2 separate regions of the Homo sapiens genome follow, and region 2 is linked to region 1. Evidence: promoter capture Hi-C in 16 types of primary human blood cells and fetal thymus (Javierre and others, 2016). All regions are on one chromosome and are shown on one strand. The core of a region is centred on a gene start or on the middle of the fragment in contact, and the rest is flanking DNA. Distances in the headings are between cores, read along the strand shown.

The links. Contacts are between HindIII fragments. The CHiCAGO score rates a contact against its expected background, and 5 or more counts as called.
Region 2: a fragment that was not itself captured here is called in contact with the fragment with the promoter of PTPRK-AS1 in region 1 in 1 of 17 cell types (total CD8 T cells); the score reaches 5.5 in total CD8 T cells.

The regions. Positions count from the first base shown.
Region 1 is chr6:128,026,598-128,029,122 of GRCh38, forward strand. It overlaps PTPRK-AS1 (PTPRK antisense RNA 1), which reads left to right and starts at 1,268. Exons shown (of 5, transcript NR_125849.1): 1 at 1,268-1,326. The region is part of intron 13 of PTPRK (protein tyrosine phosphatase receptor type K); the gene reads right to left. The HindIII fragment of the contact is 8,791 bases long and covers 1-2,525 here.
Region 2 is chr6:127,912,598-127,915,122 of GRCh38, forward strand. It overlaps a transcript of THEMIS not described here. Among named protein-coding and RNA genes, the nearest start is that of THEMIS, 13 kb to the left of the region's middle. The HindIII fragment of the contact is 2,565 bases long and covers 1-2,525 here.

The sequences.
Region 1 (2,525 bases), core at 18-2,517:
GGAACTTAATATACAATTACTGGTATTACTATTAAGGATTAAGAAAGCACTGGCATGCAACATATTATATATTTGACAAGATTACATCATCTTGAAAAAATATAAGAAGTATTCTTTTTGTATAGTACTTTAAGGAGGATATTATTCATTTTATATCATTTTCCTTCTCACTGTGATATGTAGAATATATCACACCAAAATTGTGGTTGACCCAACACTCCAACCAGTGTCCTATTTTATTCACTCTGTATTTCTTAATCTATTCAATAAATATTACTAAATCCATTTGCTGTGCTAGATGCTGAGGGAGGTGTGTGACACAGCCTGTAGTCTAGTAGGGGAGGTAGGCATTAAATAATTAACTCCAGTCAATTTCAGTGCTATATATGAAAAAGACAATTCACTCCTTTTTATGACTTGACTTACAGCTCACAGTGCCCAGAAAACTGGGATTCTTGATAGAATGCGCCACATATATCCTAATTAGCAACAATCACTAGTTTGGCCCCATAATGTACATACCTAACACACACTTTCACAGGCAAGAGAAGAAAATACCTATCATCATATTATGATCAAAGTATTTTGAAGTAAAAATACTTCCTCATTATTTCTTAGAATACTGCATACAGCAATTCCTTTAAAAGCAGACTCTACTAGCATGTTTCCCACTGAACAGAACTGTTTGTCCATTTAACCAAAAGGTATTTATTGCCCGGGAATTCATTAGTTCATTATTTGAAGAAATACGTATATTGGGCAAGAATGTAAATCAGGCTGTTTAGTTATCACATGAAAATGCATAAAACAGTACCCACATTCAAAGAGTTCAAAGAGTCCTTCAGGAAATCAGGTGCCTAAAAGTCAAACTGACCTTTAAAAAAAAAATGTTCATAGCTTCCTCTGTTAAATGAATGATCGTTTCAGAGCTTTCTAAATGCCAAACTCTTTTAATATATTATTTCAATTAGCTTTCACAAGCACTTATGAGGCTTGTTGTATGTTTTTTTTTTCCTTTGAGACAGAGTCTTGCTCTGTCACCGAGTCTGGAGTGCAGTGGAGCCATCTCAGGTTACTGCAACCTTCTCCTGGGTTCAAGCAATTCTCCTACCTCAGCCACCCGAGTAGCTGGGACTACAGGCGTGTGCCACTGTGCCTGACTAATTTTTGTTTTTAGTAGAGACGGGGTTTCACTCTGTTGGCCAAGTTGGTGCGTACTCCTGGCCTCAAGTGATCCGCCCACCTTGGCCTCCCAGAGTGCTGGGATTACAGGCATAAGCCACTGTGCCCAGCTGTATCTTCTTTTACCGATGAGGACACTGACAGGTTGGTATCACCTCTTTCCTAGTCTATATTGCAGCCACTCCCTTATTGAAGTTTCTGACTCCAAGTCCTACTCATCCTAATCTACCTGCAGCTTTTAAGGTGTCATTTTTCTAAAACTTAAATATGATCCTATCATTGTTCTTCTTAATAGCCTACAAAGATTTCAGGGAAAATGAAAATGACGAATATAAATTATACTGCACACACTATTTATAATAATATTTAGCCACTTAAAATTAAAACACATAAAAATGTGGGTAAAGCTCATGGTAAAATAGTAACTACAAATAATTACAAGTCACAATCTTTGCAATTATGAGAAATGTTTAAGTAAGCACCTGATAAAAAAAAGGAAAAAGCAAAAGTGATAACAGTTGCTTAGAATATTGTTTCAGAACACCTTTTAAGGTTACCACACTGTTTTAATTTTTAAAGTGGAAGAGAAAGTGCTTTAGCACTGTTGATAGCTGCCACCCTGCCCTCAAGATAAAGTGAATCTTGAGTCTTACAGCCCTTTCTCATATCTGTATCAACATACATTTTAGCCTAATTTCTTACTAACTCCTCAGTATATTCTTGAACACTGCATTAACTTTCATGTCTAACTGCAAACCTCTGCCCATGCTGTTACCAGTGTGGATATGGTCTCTGGTTTTTCTACCTATTTAAATGTCACTTTGTATGGAATTCTATTTCATGTTTAGGCACACTGCATGAAATTATTACTTCAACTATCAGGTTCTTTCACAATTCACAACTTCTTGAGAGCATGGAACATATCCTATGTATTTTTAGTATTTTCTCAATGCCTAGTGTAAGACATATGGCAGAGAGTAAGTGTGCAACAAAATTGTGTTAATATTCATATTTTTCATAAGTGAAAACAATTTTTTTGTTGATATGATGCTTTGATGGTTTCTGATTTAAGGTTAGGATGTTAAACGGACTCTATTTTTACATGACCATAATTCTACTCCCCAATTCTGTTCCTAAATCTTTAGTGAGCTAAGAATTCAGATTCATGGTAAGGTTAGAATTGTGCTGGACTGCTTGTGACTTCAACTATCCATCTTCCATGGTCAGTTCTTGATCAACTGATACAGTTTGGGTGTTTGTGCCCTCCAAATCTCATGCTGAGATGTATTCCCCAATGCTGGAGATGGGACTTGGTGGGAGGTTTTTGGTTTTGGGGGTTGGCT
Region 2 (2,525 bases), core at 12-2,511, 110 kb before region 1:
CCAGGGATGACTTGTAACCAGAATTGGTCTGAGAAGTGCCATGAGAAACCCAAACCTGTCTTTGAGAATTCTCAAACCTCTTAATCTGGAATATGACCTACTTCTATGGCCTAACTTAAATTATTAATACACATAATACACAACTGAAAAAAGTTTAAAGGTGTTAAGCAAATGTAAGAGGAAAATCTATAATCTTCCTGAAAATATGACAAATTTTGTATACCTGTTTGTATTTTATAATAGTGCCTGTAGGCCAAATGTTGTTTGTTTTGCCTTACAAAGTCCAACTGCTTTCATGTTGAAGTTAAAACCTCCAGATCTTAGCCTGAATTCCAATGCTTCTACCATGAATCTTCTCGTCTAAGCAAAGTGGATGACTTGCTCTTCCAGATCTGTATCCCTAATGCAGTGAGAAAAGATTGTTATGAATTACTTTTCTCAGGGGTCTGACTAGGATATTTTTCCATGCCTGAATGACATCAGTGGCCAAGTGAACGTAATGCTCTGCTGGCCAGATTAGGTCACAGGACCATTACGACATTGGACATGAAATGCCTGGACATAGAGCAGAGCATCAAGTAATCCCTCATAAAAGAGGAAATAGATACTGGATGGAAAAAAAAAGTCTCTTATACTCATCACTTAAGTTCTAGTTCCTTTACCTCTATGAAGCCTTTTCTAATCTTTATATTATTTTCACAATTCTCTCTTCCTTTTCAGTTTCCATTCGCTGAATATTTTTTATGTGTCCATTTGCATGCTTTTTCCTTTGTTCCTGAATTCTACATTTAGGGAAAGGAGATTTGGGTCTACTTTGATTGGATGCACTCAATAGCTCCAAATACCTTCACCAGCACTATGCTAAGAAATGTTTTCAAAAAAAACAAATGAATGGACTTGACATATTTGTTGTATTTAATTGAATAATCTGAACCTGAACCAGGTTAAATTCTACCTACATTCTTACCTTCTCCTCCCCAAGATGACAGAATAGAATCATGACCAGACCTGGACACAGGCCAATGTTAGAGTGTTTGTCTCACTGAGAGATTTCTCCGTTGAAGTAAACTGTAAATTCAGGCTTTTAATCACCAAAGCATTATTTAATCTGTATTTGAAGTAAATATGAACTTCATAAATAAGCTGAATATTTTTCTCTTGTATAACATTTTACAGCTCATGCATTAGAATTCAATCACAAGTACTCTATTTTAGAATACCAGTATTGATTGGAAATGATGATCAAGGACTGTGTGCTTGCTAGAACTTAATTGGGAGAAAATATTGCTCCTAAACTCCTTAGCAAACAGCACATAAAATGGTGGAGGCCAAGTCTTATACAGGTTGAGAATTTATCTGATATGCTTGGGACAAAAAATGATTCAGATTCTTTTAAGATTTTGGAATATTTCCATATACATAATGAAATATCTTGGGGATGGGGCCCAAGTTTAAATACAAAGTTTATTTATGTTTTGTAGACACCTTATACACATAACCTGAATGTAATTTTATACAATATTTTTAATAATTTTGTGCATGAAACAAAGTTTTGAATGAGTTTTGACTTCAACATGAGGCTAGACTTGTAATTTTCCACTGTGTTGTCATGTTGGTGCTCAAAAAGTTTCAGATTTTGGAGCATTTTGGATTTTTGGATTTGCAGATCAGAAATGCTCAACCTGTATTGCTCTCCTGGAAACGCATGTCTGTGAAGATACTAAGAAAAACATAGTTTTTCTTTTTCTTGCCACTTTGTAAATTCCTAAGGGACGATTTCATTATGAAACATAGTCATGTGTCACTTAACAATGAGATATGTTCTGAGAAATGCATCCTCAGGCAATTTCATTGTTGCGTTAATCATAGAGTGTGCTTACACAAACCTAGGTGTGTACTTTTACTGCACACCTAGGCCATCAGGTATAGCCTATTGCTCCTAGGCTACAAGCCTGTATAGCATGTTACTGTCTGAATGATGTAGGCAACTGTAACACAGTGGTGTTTTTGTGTCTAGACATATCTAAACATAGAAAAAGGCACAGTGTAAACATGGTATTATAATCTTAAGGGACTACCATCACATATGTAGTCCATCGTTGACCAAACATTAATATAAGGAATGAAAGGAACTTTCAAATGTATGTAAATGACATTTGCCGCCTTTGTTCCCACTTTACAGTAAAGTTACATGCTTTTCTACAGTAGAGCCAGGAGGTAACTATATAATCTTCATAAAGTTCTATTTTGTTTGAAACAAAGTAATATTACAGATAAAGTGCCAAGTAAAATATTTTATGTGTGCCTGCTATGGTTATCACAACAGTAATTGACCAGAAACACACTTTGACCTGATTTTACACATTACTAGTGAATCTGAAAAGCTGCTACTTATTGATATTGAACCATTTTTAGAATCAAGTTTATATAATTTTAATCTTACACAGATTGAGGTCCCATTGTAACAGTTCGTCATTGATGGATCCATTTTTGTCCTATTTTTAGGAAATTTACTTTTAGAAGAA